Linked DNA regions of Homo sapiens: regions 1, 2, 3, 4 and 6 are each linked to region 5. Evidence: promoter capture Hi-C in 16 types of primary human blood cells and fetal thymus (Javierre and others, 2016). All regions are on one chromosome and are shown on one strand. Each heading gives the region's core, a stretch centred on a gene start or on the middle of the fragment in contact. The rest is flanking DNA. Distances are from core to core; before and after follow the strand shown. Region 1 holds the start of TAF1D (TATA-box binding protein associated factor, RNA polymerase I subunit D). Region 2 has its middle 38 kb from the start of JRKL. Region 3 holds the start of CEP295 (centrosomal protein 295). Region 4 overlaps JRKL-AS1 (JRKL antisense RNA 1). Region 5 holds the start of CWC15 (CWC15 spliceosome associated protein). Region 6 holds the start of MED17 (mediator complex subunit 17).

Evidence for each region. Contacts are between HindIII fragments. The CHiCAGO score rates a contact against its expected background, and 5 or more counts as called.
Region 1: a contact is called between the fragment with the promoter of TAF1D here and the fragment with the promoter of CWC15 in region 5, in 1 of 17 cell types (neutrophils). The highest score is 6.6, in neutrophils.
Region 2: a contact is called between a fragment that was not itself captured here and the fragment with the promoter of CWC15 in region 5, in 8 of 17 cell types (activated CD4 T cells, naive B cells, non-activated CD4 T cells and 5 more). The highest score is 10.4, in activated CD4 T cells.
Region 3: the fragment with the promoter of CEP295 here is called in contact with the fragment with the promoter of CWC15 in region 5 in 1 of 17 cell types (neutrophils); the score reaches 5.5 in neutrophils.
Region 4: a contact is called between a fragment that was not itself captured here and the fragment with the promoter of CWC15 in region 5, in 1 of 17 cell types (activated CD4 T cells). The highest score is 7.1, in activated CD4 T cells.
Region 6: a contact is called between the fragment with the promoter of MED17 here and the fragment with the promoter of CWC15 in region 5, in 1 of 17 cell types (total CD8 T cells). The highest score is 5.2, in total CD8 T cells.

Annotation. Positions count from the first base shown.
Region 1 is chr11:93,739,451-93,742,846 of GRCh38, forward strand. TAF1D (TATA-box binding protein associated factor, RNA polymerase I subunit D) reads right to left here and starts at 2,045. Exons shown (of 6, transcript NM_024116.4): 1 at 1,872-2,045. C11orf54 (chromosome 11 open reading frame 54) reads left to right here and starts at 2,222. Exons shown (of 9, transcript NM_001286069.2): 1 at 2,222-2,278. RefSeq lists enhancers at 1,705-2,214, 2,343-3,028, 2,795-2,914. The HindIII fragment of the contact is 24,379 bases long and covers 3-3,396 here.
Region 2 is chr11:96,426,431-96,429,858 of GRCh38, forward strand. No RefSeq gene overlaps it. Among named protein-coding and RNA genes, the nearest start is that of JRKL, 38 kb to the left of the region's middle. RefSeq lists a silencer at 1,183-1,395. The HindIII fragment of the contact is 4,059 bases long and covers 1-3,428 here.
Region 3 is chr11:93,659,809-93,663,209 of GRCh38, forward strand. It overlaps CEP295 (centrosomal protein 295), which reads left to right and starts at 1,874. Exons shown (of 30, transcript NM_033395.2): 1 at 1,874-1,966. RefSeq lists a silencer at 1,638-1,707 and an enhancer at 1,868-1,997. The HindIII fragment of the contact is 3,556 bases long and covers 592-3,401 here.
Region 4 is chr11:96,445,439-96,448,533 of GRCh38, forward strand. It overlaps JRKL-AS1 (JRKL antisense RNA 1), which reads right to left. Exons shown (of 5, transcript NR_047481.2): 3 at 1,911-2,024; 4 at 1,617-1,805. Among named protein-coding and RNA genes, the nearest start is that of JRKL, 57 kb to the left of the region's middle. The HindIII fragment of the contact is 2,297 bases long and covers 394-2,690 here.
Region 5 is chr11:94,971,904-94,975,352 of GRCh38, forward strand. CWC15 (CWC15 spliceosome associated protein) reads right to left here and starts at 1,653. Exons shown (of 7, transcript NM_016403.4): 1 at 1,595-1,653; 2 at 152-290. The coding sequence starts at 282. KDM4D (lysine demethylase 4D) reads left to right here and starts at 1,806. Exons shown (of 3, transcript NM_018039.3): 1 at 1,806-2,165. RefSeq lists enhancers at 930-1,705, 1,420-1,589, 1,910-2,059. The HindIII fragment of the contact is 9,854 bases long and covers 1-3,449 here.
Region 6 is chr11:93,782,573-93,785,753 of GRCh38, forward strand. It overlaps MED17 (mediator complex subunit 17), which reads left to right and starts at 1,710. Exons shown (of 12, transcript NM_004268.5): 1 at 1,710-2,191. The coding sequence starts at 1,942. RefSeq lists enhancers at 1,531-1,825, 1,767-1,986 and silencers at 2,117-2,246, 2,248-2,442. The HindIII fragment of the contact is 2,360 bases long and covers 352-2,711 here.

The DNA.
Region 1 (3,396 bases), core at 795-3,294, 1.2 Mb before region 5:
TAAGCTTCTTATCCATTTCAGATCAGTTTCTTTAAAAAGAAATCCAGAAATTCTATTCACAGGTTCTTTCAGTTGTTACCCTCTAAATGTATTCAACGCAACAAGATTCCAAAAAAGTACCGTCCCTTCCAACAAAAGCATCTTTCAATATAAGTAAAAAATGTAGTTTTATCATTAGCCACATATTTTAACGTACAATTACCAATACAGTATTAATGTACAATTAAAAGCCGTTTTCCAAGATCAAAGGGGGAATTCCTAAAGCAAAGTGTGCCCTATATAAACCAGGAAAAGGATCTCCAATCAATAAACCATTTTAAACTCCTAATCACCTCTCCATTATAATTCCTAGATTCTTCATTCCTAGATTCATTTAAGCAACTGAACTTTGTCATATTGTATCTTTGCCATTATTGGTGGAAACTGACAAGTTCTGAATTCTCAACCTTTTTCAATGAACTATCATAATTCTTGTGTCTTCATCCCCATGGTAGAGAGTATACAACATACCAAAAAAAAAAAAAAAAAAAAAGAAAAAGATTCCTTCTTGTGAGCTAAAAGAAAAAAGAAAAACAGGTTGGTCTGGGTGGCTCAGGCCTGTGTAACACAGCACTTTGGGAGGTCGAGGCGGGCGGATCGCTTGAGCCCAGGAGCTCAAGACCAACCTGGGCAACGTGGTGAAACTCCGTCTCTACAAAAAATACGGAAATTAGCCAGAATAGTGGCGCGCGCCTGTGGTCAGGAGGCTGGGGTAGGTGGAATACCTGAGCCTGGGAGGTGGAGCTTGTATGTAGTGAGCCTCAGCAACACAAGGAGACCCTTGTCTCTACAAAAAATTCTTAAAATACTGGCTAGGTGTGTTGGCCCGTGCCTTTGCTCCCAGCCACTCGGGAGGATCGCTTAAGCCGCGGTGGAGGTTGCTGTTAGCCGAGATTGCACCACTGCACTCCAGCCTGGACGACAGAGCAAGACCCTGTCTCAGGAAAAAAAAAAAAAAAAAAAAAAAAAAAAAAAAAGGCATGGCAACAAAAATTAAAGATAACTACTTATTTCATTATTGTACATGCCTTAGTCAATCTCTTGTCTCATTCTGTAGCTTCTTGGGACCTGACATGAGTCATTACATATAAATCCTAGGATGAACTAGCAAAATATTTAAAATATGAAACGATAAGGTCACCAAGAGCTCAGATTTGTTAAATGCCCCCTGTGGTATTTTCCTGGTACAAGGTCTTACTAGTTTTTTTAAGTACAAGATTCTACAAAGTCATTAAATATCGAATGCTCAAAAACGGAATTCAACAAAAATTTGCCCCCATGCTTTAACGGTATACCTGTAGTTAATTTTTTTTAAAAGTAGGGATTATCAAAATAAAGCTAGCTCAATAATCACTTTTTCGAAGTGTTTAGAAGACACTCCTACTTGGGTGTCGATGCCTCCGTGGGGATTCTGCAATTCTTAGAGGCCACGTGGGCAGAGAGCGGCGCTTTACCCGGAGCTAACGCTGTGACCACCAGCGCCTCTCACCCGGCAGCGCCTAACCTGCAGAAAACCGGCGCGAGTAATGGGTACCTCACATACGAAGGTTAAATCATTTAAATCACGTAATAAGGTTAAACTTGTCCGCAACACGATTTAACACCTCCATCTCAAGATATAATGAAGCCCGTCCACACTACAACCACGTTTGTGTGGGACTCATACCAGCCGCGTGGCGCGGAGTGGCCTGCGGCCGTGATCCCTTCACCCTCTCGGACCGACTTCGGAGTCTCGATCCTCCGGACCAACGAAGGGGCCCCGGGAAACCCCAGATATGCAACGCCTCCCCCGCCCGCCAGGCCCGGACGGCCTCGCCCTCTTAGCAACCTACCTAAAACGGCCTCGCAGTGGCCCCAACCGCGCACTTGCTGCTTGTAACCCAGGCCTCGGCCCAAAACCCGCGACTGGCCTGGTGTCCTAGAGCTCTGTACACACCACCCTCCCGACCTCAGCCCTCCAACTCCCGATAACCAGCCGACCTCCTCCAACCGTGCGGAAGAAAAGGGTTGGCTATTTCCGTGGCCCAAGTAATAGTCAGGCCGAAATCTCGCGATACAACTTAGCTTCCGGGAAGAAGGCGAGCGGTGGGAGGAGACGCGACGTGGGGGCGCCATTTTTCTCGCCGCGCAGGGAGGACTGACTAACGTGGGCGGAGCTCTAGCTCGCGTATTCTGAGGAGGCGGGGTTGGCCTAGGCGAAGATCCGGACTCTGGGTGTTTTGCTACCGTGACCGTTTAGGTGAGTGGAATAGCCAAGAACATTTCGGCAAATAACAAAAACAAAACGTGCGGTCACTTGTGAGTGGATGAGAACTGTGAGGAAACAGCCTCTCAGCCCGGTTCGTTTCCGGTGGTCTCGCGTTTGCTGAGCTGTCGCCTGGCTTTCTAAATCTGGTCCCGGGTGTGTGGCGAGGGTGACGGGTGGGATGTGTGCCTGAGTGTTTTGTAATCCTTTGTCTATTTCTGCCTTCAGAAACCCTTGTGTGTTAAAATATTGGAGAAGGCTCATTCTTTGACCATGACTCGAAGTGTGTAACCTTTGTGCTGGACGCCAGTGTTATTCCATAGCACGCCCAGGTCTCCTCCCCACTTTTGCACCTGTTTCGTAAGCTCACCCTTTCTGCCTCCCAGGAGTTGGCTAACATGTCACAAGTGAGACCTGTGGAGGATTTGTTTTTCCTAAGTTTCCTCCTACATCCCCCCTGCCCCACACCATTAGTTCCTTGACCGGTTCCTGAGTTAAGATTAAACAGTGTAAACTAGTTTAGTTTTGGTGGGGTTTTTTTCTCCCAAAGTAATTTTTTTTTTTTTGAGACCGAGTTTCGCTCTTGTTGCCCAGGCTGGAGTGCAACGGTGCGATCTTGGCTCACCGCAACATCTGCTTCCCGGGTTCAAGCGATTCTCCTGCCTCAGTCTCCCCAGTAGCTGAGATTACAGGCGTGCGCCACCATGCCCAGCTAATTTTTGCATTTTTAGTAGAGGCGGGGGTTTCTCCATGTTGGTCAGGCTGGTCTCAAACTCCCGACCTCAGGTGATCCTCCCGCCTCGGCCTCCCAAAGTAATTTTAAAAAGGAATGAACTGGTTTGATTTTTCCGCTTTCAAAATTCTGTTTTCATATGATAAACCACAAAAATCAGTAAAGCTGTCTAGTCTTATTTTATAGTTCACATTTTAGGATTGAACGGGCCTTAAAAGTAATCTGGTCTCTTTACCTGCTTTGCTCCATAGTTTGGACAATTCCGGGGATAAAAAGTCCGATCCTTTAGGCAGCCCACTGCATTTGATCCACAGGGTCTGGGCAATGACGAAGCTCCAGGACTGGTATGGCATGTCCCTCACTGCCGTATTCAGCAGCA
Region 2 (3,428 bases), core at 378-2,877, 1.5 Mb after region 5:
TGGAAAAACAGAAGAGATAAGGAAGAATAGAAACAAAGGATGACACAGTCACATGTTCACAAGACAAAGAAACGCAAACACACATACTCACTTCATACTGGAGTTGCAAATGTGAACTAGCACAGCTAAAAGGGAGAGACAATTACAGGGACTCACAAAATTACTATGTAGGAGGCTTTCATGTGGATGAAGAGACAGGATAACAAGCACCTGCGGAATAAAACACACACACACACGCACACACACACACACGCCCACCATGAAGCTCCGTTCAAAATTCAAATGCATATAATCTGCAGAAAAACAAAGATACACTCATTTTAAAGCGTGTATCCCTGACACATTTTAAAGTGGATATCCCTGTTTCCATTTTGTTTTATAGATGGTTTGATTCTAACTTCATTTGGAAACATAGATGATCTGAAATCTTAATTTTTGAGAAAGAAAACCCAAATTTAGTCTTCAGGAGAGTTTTAAATATCTTGAAACAAAACAGGGGTTGGGATGCGGGAGCAGGGCAATGGGGACATTTAAGATGGAGTAACATCCCCATCTTGTGGTATATCAGAATATTGACTCTTCTTTTTAACACTATTTTGATTTAACATAGTTTTGGGTAAAAACATATCTAACTTGATTATGGGAACACGAGAGAGTAGTGACACAGGAAATTGAATCTGCAATTTCTCAACCCATTAAATTGTTCATCAATGCTGAACTAATACAAGAGTTACATTAATAAGCGGCAGGTTTAATTACTTAGCAGATGGCTGTTCAGTGTTCACCTTAATGTTATCAGACTCAGCAAAAACAAAGAGATGACCCGCATTTGTATCTATCTGTTCTACAATATATTGTCTAGAGGTTTCATTTTTTATTTTATTTTATTATTATTATTTTTGAGACTGAGTCTCGCTCTGTCGCCCAGGCTGGAGTGCAGTGGCGCGATCTGGACTCACTGCAAGCTCCACCTCCTGGGTTCAGGTCATTCTCCTGCCTCAGCCTCCCGAGTAGCTGGGAAGCGCCTGCCGCCACGCCCGGCTAATTTTTTGTATTTTTAGTAGAGATGGGGTTTCACTGTGTTAGCCAGGATGGTCTCGATCTCCTGACCTCGTGATCTGCCCACCTCGGCCTCCGAAAGTGTTGGGATTACAGGCGTGAGCCACCGCGCCCGGCCGAGGTTTCATTTTTAAAAAATGACAAACATTCTTGTTACTTTCTTGCACTTTTTTTTTCTTTCTTTTTCTTTTTCTTTTTCTTCTCTTTTCTTTTCTTTTCTTTTTTTTTTTTTTTGAGACGGAGTTCGCTCTGTTGCCCAGACTGGAGGGCAGTGGCACAATCTCGGCTCACTGCAACCTCTGCCTCCTGGGTTCAAGCGATTCTCCTGCCTCAGCTTCCCAAGTAGCTAGGATTACAGGTGCCCACCACCACGCTCAGCTAACTTTTTGTATTTTTAGTAGAGATGGGGTTTCACCATATTGGTCAGGCTGGTCTCGAACTCCTGACCTCAAATGATCCACCTGCCTAGGCCTCCCAAAGTGCTGGGATTACAGGCGTGAGCCACCACGCCTGACTATTGTCTTGCACTTTCTAATATAACAAAAAGTGAAGACTACTGCCACCACCAAAAACAATGCTTGCTTTGCTATAATCCTTTTCCTCAGACTGAGACACTTTGGCCTATTTAAAATGTGGGTAATGGCTCTAAAAATGCTTGTTTAGGATGCAGATGTATTCTCTATTTTGTCTTCTTTGACATTTTTATGTGGTTTTGGTTCTTTAGCATATGAAGTTTTATTTTTAATCAATCCATGATTTGTCCCTAAGTTGTTCTGATGGGAATATGAGAATACATAAAGGGAATATGAGATACAGCTCCTAGTGACAACATACTTATAGTCTAGTTGAAGACATAGACATGCCTACAAGAATTATAATTTAAAAACAAAACAGTGCGCAAGTTATTTTGATGTGCCACATCAAATTTTGTAGTTCTTTCCATCTTCTGCTTTAGTCACTCAATTCACTTGATAACTCCTTGAGGAGGCATCAACTGGGCATTTACTATTTTCATGATATTGTACTAGGAGCCATGAAGAATAACGAATAAAAGGTGCAGGGAAATATTAAAGCCTTTATAATCTAGTTTGGGTGACTAACCACAAAAATTTTTGGTGCCTACACCTATGTATAATATATTGACATAAATGGAAAGTGTGGGAGTTTTGGGTCTTAAGTGATAGGTCTCTCATTCACATGTTAAACTTATTTTTAAATATAAAGATAAAGAAAATTTAGAAATGACGGAATAAAAATCTGTAACACTGCTTCATTACCAAGTATTTACTATTTTGATGTACAATTGATTTTCCCCCTCATCTCAGGGTTTAGAGTTCTTAAGAACCACTGTGTAGGAGACTATAGCTGAAGCACATAGACCATATTTAGAAATTAGGACAGGATTACCAAGATCTTAACTCTTTTTAAAATTTAGTTAGAAAATATTTAGGAATAACTCTCATGAAAAGGTTCAAGTCTTTCTTGAAGAGAACTACAAAATAAGTAGAGGAACATAAAAGAATCTTGATTAAGTGGATGTTCTTGGGTGTGAAATATTAATATTGTAAAGAAGTAAATTCTCCTCAGATTACTACACAAATAGAATGCAATTCCCATTGGAATCCCAACTTTGCAACGTGGCTCTAAAGTTAATTTTAATAATTAAATTTTAGAGAAGAGCTAAACCTTTTTTTCTGAGGAAAATGAAGAAAGAAGATGAGTAAAGACAAACACAATTAAAATTAAAATCACCTGGTATTGGCAGAGGAAGAGAAAGACAGTTCAATGAGATTAGAAACCCCATAAAAAGTTATATTTAAGAATTTCATATATGATGAAAGTAATATTCTAAATTGGTGAGAAAAGAATGAGTTTGATACAAACTAATTTTGTAACAATTGATCCATCGTTAAAAAAATTTAGATTCTTACCTATTCCATACACCATCCAAATTCCAGATGGGTTAATATTTTAGCTATTAAAAATTGAAATAACAAAATTAATAGAAGAAAATAAATGGTTACATAATCTTAGAAAGGCAGATTTTCCAAGTATGACATCAGAGACAGAAACCAGTAAGCAGAATTTGGTTGATTTTATTGCACACTTATTAATATTGATTGAATAAATCAATATTAAACTACTGATCTTTTTAAAAAGAAAGAAATGAAACCGTGTCAACATATATAGGAAGGCAGTGTATTTTTAACATCTTTCACATAAAAGAAGTCTTATAAATCTATAAGAAAGTGACAAATATATGAAAAATGGAAAGAGAATGCCTAATTTAGAAAAAAAGCAACAGACTAACACTATGTCTCAAGAAAAAAAAGAGAAAAACAAAAACAAAAAAGTCAGAGAAAATGAAA
Region 3 (3,401 bases), core at 624-3,123, 1.3 Mb before region 5:
TCACCCTTGACTGAAATGTGCCCTTGGCCAAGTTGCTGAATCTCTCTGTAACTCAGTATCCTGATCTGTAAATCTGAGGTGGAATCACACTATTTCTTCCTGTACCTTCCTTCCTCCTACTCCATCCCTTTAAGTTTTGGTGTTCCTCGGAGTTTGGTTCTTTGCTCATTGCTCTTCTCACTCTGCAAATTCTCCCTAAGTGATCTCATCCATTCCGCTAGCGTTTGTTATTACTCATGTAACAAGGAAATCCCTTTATGCTTAGCCTAGTTCTTTCTGTGGGCTATCTACCGATGTATTCATCTGCTTACAGTACATCACTGGATGTTCTACAGGCACATGAAGTTCAATATACACAGAGCTTGGCTCATCACCCTACCCACTTAACTGCCATTTCTGATTTCTCCCTTTACAATCAAGAATCAACACTGCTACCCAAGCTAGTGGCCTATGAAATCAACTTCACTTTCCCTTTTCTCTCAATCTCACATGCAATTGTTTGTCAAGTACTGCTAATTTTGTGTCCTAAGTTTCTGAAATGCATCCCTTTGTCTAGATATCTCATAAACAGCTCAAATTCAAAATATTCAAAGCTTAACTTATTACTTCTCCCTCCTGGTTCTCTTCATGTGTGTTCCAGGAGGATGTTATCACTATCTACCCAGGTGCTAGGTATCTGGGACTTGGGCATCACCCTTGTTTTCTCCTCTTGTGCCTCCCATAACCAGGTAACCACCAATTCCTGATGTTTGGCTTCCTATTCAATCTACTCACCTCTCTCCATTCTCATTGCTATTATCTTTCACTTTCTGTAGTAGTATACGGCCTTCTGTCTTCACTCTCTCTGACCTTTTCCCCACTGTGCAGCCAGATCTGATCGTGTCAGCAACTTCCCATCCCCACCCCCCATTTTTAATCCTTTGATTCCTGATGTTTAACCCCCATGACCCAGACTGCAAAATCTAGTATAGGCATCATAATCCATCCAGAGTAACATAATGTACTCGGCACATAACAGATACTCAATAGGTATTAACCTGTGCTCACCGCCTGATTATTGGTTATTTACAGCAGATAAATCCGTGAGGTGCTCTCCGTGCGCTGTACCTCTGGAGGCACAGGGTAACATACGGCTCATTGTTGTTATGAGCTGGAGGCCTTAAATGAAAGCTATAAGACGTTAACTGCGCATAATAGTACCAATGAATTCCGTAGTCAGTACAGAAAAGGATGCATATCCCAAGATATCTTCATGATGGGGCCTTAAAACAAAAGTCACCCTCATGGCTCTGCACTTTTTTTTTTTTTTTTTAGACAGGCTTTGGCTCTGTCGCCCAGGCTGGAGTGCAGTACTGGCGGGATCTCGGCTCACTGCAACCTCCACCTCCTGGGTTCAAGCGATTCTCCTGCCTCAGCCTCCCGAGTAGCTGGGATTACAGGCGCCCACCACCACGCACGGCTAATTTTTGCTGTTGTCGTATTTTTTGTAAAGATGAGGTTTCACCATGTTTTTAAAAGGACTTGGTCTTGAACTCATAACCAAAAATACATAACCTCGAACTCTTGGGCTCAAGTGATCCTCCCGCCTTGGCCTCCCAAAGTGCTGGGATTACAGGCGCGAGCCACCGAGCGCGGCCCATACGGGAAAACGTCAAAGCCTGACAGGTGTGACAAATAATGGGCCCCTAGGCAGGCTGGGGCTGGCGCGTGCCTGTGCGCGTGCGCGGGGCGCGGGGTTTTTAACACCGCGCAGCCTTCCCGGCGGCCCCCGAGGAAGGCGGGACAGGGCCTATTCCCGCGGTTTGGTCCGGCCATTGGCGGGCGGTTTGAATGACGGAAGTGACGGCGGCTCGGCGATGGCTCTCCCGCAGGCGCAGAAACGGCTGCTGGGCAGCTGATGGGCAGGAGCTTACCAGGCTGGCTTGCTCTGAGCTGCGGTTACTGTGTCCAGGCCCCGGGTTCTCAGGTGAGTCAGGGATGCACTGGCTTCCCAGTCGCCCCGTAGGAGCATGACTCCCCGAGGCCCAAGAGCTGGGATTGTATTCCGGAGGAATGGGATCCCAGGAAGGCGCCTTGTTGCGAACGCAGGTACGGCTCGCGTTTCTCAGGCTCCGCAGGCCGTGGGCCCTGCCCGCGGTCGGGCTGGCGGCTGTAAGGAGTGTCCGGACCAGACCCGGTAACTCAGTGCGAGAGGCTTTGCGCGCTCTCCTGGGGTCGGGTCGCGCGAGCTTCCCACGCAGCCTCCCCTGTCGCGGAGCTTCCGTGTCGGGGGAGGGGCGCTTCCCCCAGATCACCCGCGGACATGGCCTGCCACCTGGTAGCTGTTAAAAGAGCCTTGCCTGGATCGTTTCATGCAAAGAGCACGCTCTCTTTTGGTGTCTGCCACCTTAATCTCACAGTTATTCAATCCTGTCACAAACTCAACTTTTAAAACAATGGTGAACTTTTGAGTCCTTAATACTTAGAGTGTATTTGAAGACTTCACGCTAAGTCACATAGACGTCAGAACAAACCTTTTGGGGTAGATATTATTATTCCCTTTATACAGTTTAAGAAAACGAAACCAAAGTGACTTCAGTGACTTGGCCAGTATCTTCCTGCTAATAAGTGGCAGTGTTGGGTCTTGAACCCAGATCTTCCAAGTTTAGTGTTAATTTTGTGATTACTATGTACCAGGAGCCATTTAATCCTCAGGACGAAATCTTGCAAGATAAGTAGTATAATCTTCAATATTGGATAGTAATAAAATGTAGAATTTAAAAATCCATATTACTAAGAATAAATAATTAATAAACAAGTAAATGGGGCAGCAGGGAAAACTTCCTTACAGCAGGATTCCGATTGATAATTGTAGAAGGAATAATGGAAATAGAAAATACTATTTGGTAAACACCACAGTAGTTGTTTCAGACAACAGTCATCAATGGATACTAACGTCAATGGGCAAAAGTATGATGAAAAGCATATTTCTGTAGCCTCTACTCTGTCTTCATGAGATATTTATAAAGGAAAAGTAGTAACTACAGAGGAGAAACCTGGTGGACATCATCTTAACCAAGTGACCAAAATTCAGCATCATTTACCTCTTGATAACAATGCACTGAAAAGGTGCCTAATCAATTCTGTGGTGTTCTTGCCAAAAATACATAACCTCAGTTTAATCACATAAGATTAGACAAATCTAAATGGAGGGACATTCAACAAAGTACTTGGCCAGTATTTTCAAAAATGACAGGGTCTTGAAAAGACAGACTGAGAAACTGTCCCAGATTAAGGGGGACATGACAACTTTGACATGAGAATGTAACTCACATATCTTAATCTCCTGCATTCTGAAATCTCCATTTGCACTGAGGCCATGCTTCCCATGGGCTGCTCCTAGCCACTGACAGTGGCAGGCC
Region 4 (3,095 bases), core at 292-2,791, 1.5 Mb after region 5:
AGACATCAATTAGAGATAAACTTTTTGTGTGTGTGTGTGTGTGAGACAAAGTCTCGCTTTGTAGCCCAGGCGGAGCTTGCAGTGAGCCGAGATCACGCCACTGCACTCCAGCCTGGGCGGCAGAGCAAAACTCTGTCTCAAAAAAAAAGGGGTAAACTAAATTATTCACAAATTGTTTCTGAATTATAACATATTTACTAAAATAATTTTTCGAATTCTTTTTTTGTTGCTAGTTGATTTTGGCTAAATGTTGCAGCAAAAATTAGGTCTTAGGCTTACCATATAGTAGCAACATAAGTAAGAAAAATATAGCTTGCTTTAAGAAACTCCAATATATAAAATATAATCTTCTGATGTATGACACAAATGAAGGAAAGTGTCCAGGTAAAGGAAAGCTTCCTTTAGAAATATCAATCATCTTATTAAGTATATAGTTCTACTAGTGATTTATTTTCCAAAATGTGCTTTTAGCAATTGTATTCATTTTCTATTGATTTCTAATAAATTGCCATAGACTCAGTAGCTTAAAACAATACTCATTTTTTAGTTTACTTCTGTATACAAATTCCAGGCATGGCATTGTTGTGTTCTTTGTTCTGGTTCTCACAGGTTGAAATCAGAGTGTTGGCTGTGCTGTGTTACTTTCTAGAGGTTCTCGGGAACCTCCACTTCCAAGTTTATTCAGGTTGTTGGAAGAATTCAGTTGTTTGTGGTTGTACGACTGAGGTCCCAATTTGTCTCCTGGCTGTCAGCTGGGAACTACTCTCAGATCCTAATCCCAGCCACATTCCTTGCTACATGGCCCCTTCTATCTTCAGAGAGAGCAACGGAGAATCTTTCTCTTAATGAGCTCCCCTCATACTTTGAATCTCTTCTACTCTTGAGGTTTTCACCTGATGAAGTCAGGTCCAACTGAGGGGAATCTCTCTGTCTTAATGGCAACTAATTTGGGACCTTAATTATATATGTATAATCCTTTATAGATTAATAATCACCTAGATTAATGTTTGATCAAATAGAATAACTGGGAGAAAGTTTGTATGCACCAGGGGTGAGAATCTTGGGAGCTGTCTTAGAATGTCTTAGAATTTTGCCTATTACAGCAGCGAAATGTATCATGATTGAATTAAAAAAATTCATTTAAAAATAATAGGATTCTGAATCCAAATGAGAGGTCATTTGGAAGACCTGAAACTATTTTTTACTTATTTTTTATTTATTTATTTATTTTTTTTGAGAAATTCTCACTCTGTCACCCAGGCTGGACTGCAGTGATGTGATCTCGGCTCGCTGCAGCCTCCGCCTCCCAGGTTCAAGTGATTCTCCTGTCACAGCCTCCAGAATAGCTGGGATTACAGGTGTGCACCACCATGCCTGGCTAATTTTTGTATTTTTAGTAGAAACAGAGTTTCACCATGTTGGCTAGGCTGGTCTCGAACCCCTGACCTCAGGTGATCCACCCGCCTCAGCCTCCCAAAATGCTGGGATTACAGGTGTGAACCACCATGGCCAGCTGACTTTAAACTGTTCTAACTGGGAGTTAAAGCCCTCTGTTTCAAATTCCAATGTTGCCGAGGTCTCTCAGGCTGTCAAACCCCAACACCAAGTAATGACACTTGCCTGTGTGACTTCACTCCAACTCCTTTCCGACCAAGACACAAGCATTGCTGCCCTCTGTTTGGCAAGATGATCGCTACAATGTTAACTGTCTTGTGCAAGTTTTCTATCCTGTCAGCCTTCAGCTTGCCGGCGTGGTGTACTTTGGGTGTTTATGATAGCAAAACTTGAGAACCTGTAAGTACAACCTATAAGCACATTCTATAAGCAGAGGAGGGCCCTTATTTGTTTTTTTAACCTCACATATGGTTTTGGCTCCCCCCAGGAAAATGCCCATCATAAGGAAGCATTACCTCTGTTAGCCCCTTCTGGCTCATTGACAGGCTGTCCTCCTCACAGGCAGGAATGCAGTCCCAGTGGCCCAGCTGTACTCGGAATCGACTCTCTTTTTCTCTCCCGAGGCAAAGCTGCAAAAACACTCCTCATGTTCTGCCAGCTACTTAATCCCTTTTTCTCATTTCAAACTTCAATATACTCTTTAAAAAAGGAACCTCACCAAAACCTCCCCTAAAGCTAAGTGGCTCTGCTCCTTGGATCCCAGGGCCCCAGTGAATGTTCATAGCGTTGTCTCCAGTCATTAAGAAAGTGTTAAATCATGTGCCATACACAGTTTAAGCACACAGGGGAGTGTGTAAAACTTTCGTATTTCTAGTTAGGGGTCATTACAGTATAGAATCACTTTGTGCCCAGAGATTCATTCATTTCAGAATTAAGCTCATTAGCAGTCATTGCTTTATTATTGTGTTTCTGCCTCAGTGGTGAGTTGGGGACTGCTGCACTTAAGGGGTCAGCCTGGTTCACCCTTGCTGCACCAGCCGTAGCTATTTGTCCCTGATTCATCAGATCTCAAGTCCGCAATGTGTGCCTTAATGAAGGCTGCATGCAGAGTTCAACTTTGGCTATGCCAGATAGAATAATCCCAACTCTTTTACTTACTCGCCAAAGTCATTTAATATTTCTGTGCTTTGATTTCCTGTCTTACAAGATGCACTCTGAGTGTTACTGGTAGGTAATAACGGCTTATGCGTGTAAGATGTTATTTAAAGCACCGCAGCCTTCTCCATTGAAGGCTAAGCTTGCCGATGCACTTCTCGTCCCCTGGCTCAAGAACTGAGGCAGAGGTGGGTTAGTAGACCGGACTTCTCTTAATTTCTAAATATATCTAGTATCTAACCACTTATCCCCATCACCAGTACCCCTTCCTTTGGTCAATCAAGCTTCTGTTATCCTGAATTATTGTAATAGCTTCCTGCCTCGCCTTCTGGCTTCTTTCCCCATTACCCTGCAGTCTGTCCTATATACGGCAGCTAGGCTGATTCTTTAAAAACATGAGTCTGGTCTTTCTCACTCCTCTGCTCAGAGTCCTGCAGTGACTTCCCATTTCACTCAGTGCAAAAACAGAAGCCCTTAAAATGGCCTATAAGCCCTTCAGTACCTGGTGATCCCATTAGCTCTCTGGCTTGGCTCCTGCTCACTCA
Region 5 (3,449 bases), core at 403-2,902:
CAGCAGAATTTTAGTGTTAAACATCCTATTGCATTCTATTCCTATGAAAATAGATAAGTGACATAACTCAAACATACTACTATATCATGACCATGCCATTTAACAGATCTGGTCTTGTTTTGTGAACAATAAAAAAAGAAAGTCTTACTACCTGTATTTTATCTTTGTATGAGAGGGTAGGTCTCTGCTTGAATACTGCTTTGAAAGTTGGCTCAAATCACCTTCTCCTTTTCCCCTTCCACCTCTGGCAGGTTCAAAGGTTGGCCTGGCTGCTGTTGTCATCTTTTATGCTTTGAAGAAAAATATAATCAAGTTATTTCCAACATTACAAACACTCATTTTATAGAGTATTAATCAATATCCATACTGGTAAAATAAGTTCTAAAACTCATTCCCCAAAACCTGCTTAATCTTCTTAAACAAAAGTTTTCAAGAAAACAAATTATGAGGCTTAGGCTGTACAAGGAATATGGCTTCTCAGGCTTGCCTTAGTACAAAAAATTCTGTCATGAAGATCTGAGTTTGCATCCCTATTCTCCTTCTGACTATATGGGCTTGAGCAAGTCACCTGGCTTAACTTTGTCATCTGTGGAATGGAGATATTCCTCATAGATTATAAGAATTATGACACTTGACATGTCAAAACCCTAGTAAAATACAGTACTGCCATGACTGAGTTTTAAAAATTTCCAACTCAACCTTACTCTACCAGACTCTGTAAGGTTTGCATTTTATCTAAACTTCACACAATAGCAAATAGGCTAGTAGAAACAAAAGCTAAAAACAAACAAAAAATATCACTGACAAAGTTACTAAATGTCCCAGAGAAAAGTGTGTTAAACTTCAATGACAGTTACACAGAAAAAAATTCTTAAACAACCGTTTGTTGAGCCAATTTTCTCCTACAACAGGCATCATACTATAAATTAGATCGTTTGTGGGTTATAATTTAAGGCCTGTTCAAAAAAAACAGGAACCTCACCCCCAGAGGATTCTGATGCCAAAAATCAGGGACTCATTCCTCAAGTTACTTTCTGCTTGGAGCAGTCACAAGAATACTGTGCAGCAGATGCAGTCACTAAAACCCTGTTAGTGTCGGAAAAGCAAGTGTGTGGGGAGGGTGGGCGAATTGGGAGGATTTTTTGGGGGGGGGGCGATGCTAATTCTCTCAACTTTCAAAAAGGGTAGAGACATGTATACAAAGAAGAAAACAGGGTTATCTGGCGCTGGGGGCGCCGCCCCTTCCCACACACCCACGGAATTATCACTCCGGCCTCCCGTGAGCTAGTCTTTGGCTATAACCAGAAACTCGCTGCCTCTTCACCCGTGCCCAGCACTGCAGGGGTGCGAAGGGTAGTGAAGGGAGGACCTGGGGTTCGCTTTACGCAGTAGGCGAGCTGCCTGTACGCTGCGATCTCCTCGGCGGGCCCAAGAGCTCCAGACGCGCCTGACAGGCACTCGGTTCCGCCCCTAGCCCGCTGCTCCAGGGCCTCCACCGCCCGCGCTCTGCACTCTGCCGCCGACTCCGACCCCAACTGCCCTTTCCCGTCCCATCGCGATAAGAAAGATAATCTCCTATCCTCTTGCCGCTCACACTGGCCGAGGTCCGATGCAGCAGGCTCCGAAGATCATACAGACGCCATTACCACTCTTGGCTCCCAGAAACCTCTGCGCCCAGAGCTAGCGCCTACGACCCGGAAGCAAAATCCAAGCGCTTCGGGGGCGGAAGCAACGACCAATCCGCAGTGGCCGAAGTGGAAGTCGGCGTAACGGCACTAAGGGGCGGGGCCGAAGCGGCCCAGGGGGCGGGCGTTTGAAATCAGTGCCTTAGAGTAGACCCTAAACCTCATTTTATACCTTCAAGAACCAATTACTTAATGTCTCTTCCGTCTTTTCCGTCCCCGACCCCCTCCCAGACTCCTTCATTCCGGTACTGCGTGGACGGAAAGCCCCGGGTAGCCGACACCACGTCCCCGGCTAGCGGGAGAGAGCGTGGAAAAGGATTACACCAAACTGTTTAAATCCAACGACTCCTGCTTCCATCCTTTCTCCTGAGCTAGAACCAACAAACCTAGAGAGTTGGGCTTCGGAAAAACTAGTGTTTTCATTTAATTGGATATGAAGAAAGAACAAATATGTACGGGGCAACCACGATCTTTACAAAGGTACCATTCCTGCAAAAATATTAACACTTCAAAGCAAAGGTTGTATTCGTAATGTTTGCTAAAATTTCTTATTTAAAAAACGTTAGTTTTAGTGGGAGGGGAGATGTCAGTATTTACGAGAGCGTTTACAATGGTGGGCCCAACTACCAGGAGCACAAGATGTAATTATTAAGATGGCTACTTAAGTGTTAAGTTTTAATAAGACAACGAAAAGTAGAAAACCCGAAAACCAAAAACCTACCAGTCGTCTCTCCTCCCTTCCATAAAAACAAATTCTGAGAATAGAGATCTTGGTTGTTTAGCTCATCTTGGTATCTCATCACATAGACCTTGACGTATAGTAGCTGCTCAATTAATATTTGTTAAACAAATGAAAATTCAACTTCCCCAACTTAGTTTAAAATGTAAGGAACTCACAAAATTGAATATTTAAATGCTTTCTTACCCCTAAATTCTTTGCAACTTTTTAATGAAGAAAGAAAAGCAGAAAAAGCCCTTTCAGTCATAGAGTTCAAGATGAAAATCCTGATTTTTCTTACCGAAGGTATCCCTCCTCCAGTCTTAACAAGTCTCACTAAAAGACGCGATCATCATGCTAGTTACTCAAACCAAAATCCCGGAGTGCCTACTTAAATTCCTTTTCATTCACTCTTCACATACGGTTCATTTACAGGTCTTAACAATTCTACTTTTAAAACTCACCCGCAATTTTATTCTACTGCCACTACCCTTGCCTTTGCCAACACCATCTCCTACCTGGATTGTAATTGCTTCCTATTATATCTTCCTGCGTCATCTTTTATCCTACAGTCAGTGTTGCATATAGCCAAGAGAGTGATCTTTTAAAATTAATAAAATGGTGTTACTATCCTGTGTACAATTTCACTGCACTTAGAATAAAAATCACATTTCTTAATGTGACCTGAGACCCCACGGAGTCTGGTTCCTGCCTACCTTCCAGACTTCACTTCCAATCAGTCACTCGCTTACGCACTAAGCTCTAGACACAGCCAAGTGGGCATTTCTGTTTTATAAAACAGGGCAAGATTCCTTCTATTTTAGGGCCTTTGCACTAGCTTTTCTCTGTTGCCTGTGCCCCAAAGTAACTGTATCACCATCCTTCATGTCTCAGGTATCACAGTGAGGTTTTCCTACCCCCACCCCTCCAACACTTGTGTTTGTACACCATCACATCACCCTGTTTCATTTTTCATACCACTAAACATTACCAGAGTCTATTCTATTCATTTTTTATTTCCATGTCTCTCAGGAGACAGCATGCGA
Region 6 (3,181 bases), core at 460-2,959, 1.2 Mb before region 5:
TCCATCTTCATACCACAACTGAGTGTTGAAGATGTTATTTGGCATATAGAGGTCCTAACCAATTATACCCAAAAGATAGCTACATAAGTATTCCATTATTAAACAATAGTTATTCTTATGGAAAAGGCCATTATTACAAAACCGTATGGCTTTTGACATACTCACCGAAGCCCAGGGAGGAACTTGCATTATCATAAAAACTGTGTGTTATGTCTGTATCCCAGATGAATCAGATAATATCACTACGTTAATGGATAATATGAAAACCTTAACAACTAACCTTTCAGATCCAACACATCTTTAAACAACTGGCTAAGCAGCTAGTTTTGATCTTGAAGACTTGGTGGCAAAAGCTTTGCTTATTCTAGGAATCATAATCATTTGTTGTTGTCTTGTTTTTGTCTGCACTATTAGACTGCCACTGCGCCTGGCTATTAATCAGATTTTAAAATAAAGTTAAAAAAAATTTTTAAACAAATTTACACGAAAAGCAAGTACAGTGGTTCTCGAACATGATTGGGCGACAGACTGTACAGCTTGCCAGAAATAGGTTTCTCTCATGAAAATTCAACCCCCTCCACACACGGCCATCTACTTTCTTCTTCAGCAGGGACTGACACCAGGGCAACCGTATTTTCCTAAATACCTTAGGAAAGTAGTTCAAAACCTAGATATATCTTGGTCAGAACAAAACCTGGCAAACACTCATGATAAACGGTATATATAATTCCTTAAACGAAATATAGAGGTTTGTAATATAAAATAATCCATCTTTGTCTGTGGAATTCCTACTAATGAAATACGTTCTTGGAGACCCAAAGACTGAAGTTATACCACTTCTTCTTAATCTTTTAAATATTATTTGCAGGCCAGGCATGGTGACACGCTCCTATAGTCCCAGCTCCTCAGGAGGCTAAGGCAGGAGCATCGTTGGAGCCCAGGAGCTCCAGGCTGTAGCGTGCTGACAGCACTTGTGAATAACCTCTGCACTCAGCCTGGGCAACATAGTGGGACCCCATCACTAATAAAAAAGCGAGATCAACATTATTTATTCTGTTACTCGGGCATAAAATAAATATTAAGCACTTACTACATGCCAGAGTCTATTATGTCTGCTGCAGATATTGGCTGTCATAGAGTTATAACTAACAGGAAACCAAATAATTACGTAGTATAATTTTAAGTGGTGATAAGCACGATTGTTTCCCCCAAGCCATGCCCTTAATTTCTAACTCTTCAGATAGTGTTTCTTTAAAAAATTTCTTGCTAATTTAAAATAACTTTTGTTTTGAGGCAGGATCCCACTCTGTTGCTTAGGCTGGAATGCAGCGGTGAGATCTCGGCTCACTGCAGCCTCCATCTCCAGGGCTCAAGCCATTCTCCCGCCTCAGCCACCCGCGTAGCTGGACCACAGGCGCGCGCCACCAGATCTCAGTTCTCTCAACAGGACTCTCATTGCTAAGATCCAAGGATCCATTAATTTCCTTTTCCTTAACTCTTCTAGCCTCTGCAGCTTTCTTTCCTCATCCACTTTTTAAACAAACGCAGGCTTAAAAAGCAAGGAATATACCCGCCACACTCTCGGCTCCCAAACCGCTCTTTCCCTCCCTCTGCCGGCCACGCCTCTTATAGGCCCGGAAGTTTACCCCACCCTGCACCGTGATTCACCGGAAGCGCTCTAGGGAACCCTGGAGCTTCCGCGCCTGCCCAGTTTTGCTCCGAAAGACTTACCGAGGAGGGAGCTTGCGGTGCGTTCTGGGAAAGTTGCTGGGCCAGCTCCTTTGTTTCCAGTCTGAGCGTTGCGTTCGGTTTCCCGAGGGTCTTCTGAGGCACCGCGGCTGCGGGCTTCTGAGTTCCCGGCTCTCCGCAGGGAAGCCTCCTCTTCGTACCTCGTTTTTTGGCTCGTGGGGGGTCCTCCCACCGCTGGCCGACGCAGCCAGCATGTCCGGGGTGCGCGCAGTGCGGATCAGCATCGAATCGGCCTGCGAGAAGCAGGTCCATGAGGTGGGCCTGGATGGCACCGAGACGTACCTGCCCCCGCTGTCCATGTCGCAGAATCTGGCGCGTCTGGCCCAGCGGATAGACTTCAGCCAGGGTTCGGGCTCCGAGGAGGAGGAGGCGGCGGGGACCGAGGGCGACGCGCAGGAGTGGCCGGGCGCCGGGTCCAGCGCAGACCAGGACGACGAGGAAGGTAAGGCCTGCATCCGCTGCCCGAGTCCCCCGGTCTGGGTCCCAGCACCCGCGCGGGCCTCCGCCTCTCCCGCGATGGGGGTGATCTTGTGCGTGCGAGAACTTTTGAGTGTCCCTCTAGCGGAAGCGTAAGGATACTTGGTCGTCATCTTTTTGTTGCTGCCGGACAAGGTAGGACACGACTTTACGTAATACTCCTGCGGGTCTCCTTGAATGGCAGCGTTTAGAGACACTGTCAAACCGTGAAATGTTTAAATGAATGCTTCTCTGTAGAGGGCCTTTAATGTAGCACACTTAGTGGCTAAAAGAGCCCTAGATCGGGGCTCTGCCCCTTGCCGGCTGTGTGACCTTGGGCGAGTTACTTTGCATCCTTGTGCGGTGTGAATGATGATAGTAGCACCTGCAGAAAAGAGGTCTGTTTTGACTGAAATGTGTGACGAGGTCCAAGAGGTAGGCGGGTCCAGATCATGTAGAACCCAGTAGGCCGGGATAAGCGTTTGACTAGTGTTAAGACCACTGAAAGCTTTTGCAGGATAAGTAGAGATGGTTTTGTTAAAGTTTACTCTAGATGCTTTCTAATAAATGAATTATAGGGAAAGCAAAACTGGAAGGGAGGAGACTAGGAGGGAAGTGAAGAAATAATGAGTGGGTTTCAGATTCTCATTATTGTCAAGGATTTTTGAAAAAAAAATCAAAATTCTTAATTTAGTTATGCAGCACACCCAGTGTAAATGGGAATTTAAAGATGTCATTTCAGGGCAGTGCTGTTAGGATTATTAGGGGTCTATTTGCAAAAAAAGGTAAATACTACTTTATACCTCACACAAAAATTATTTCCACAGTAATTTTTGAGGATTGAAGTGCCAAATGAAGAAAGTAAAACAAAGTGTTAGAAGAAATAATGAAAGAATAGTTGTATTATTCTGGGAGTCGGATAGATCTTCTTAATTTCGGAAATAACAGGACAGGCATGGTGGCTCACACCTGTAGT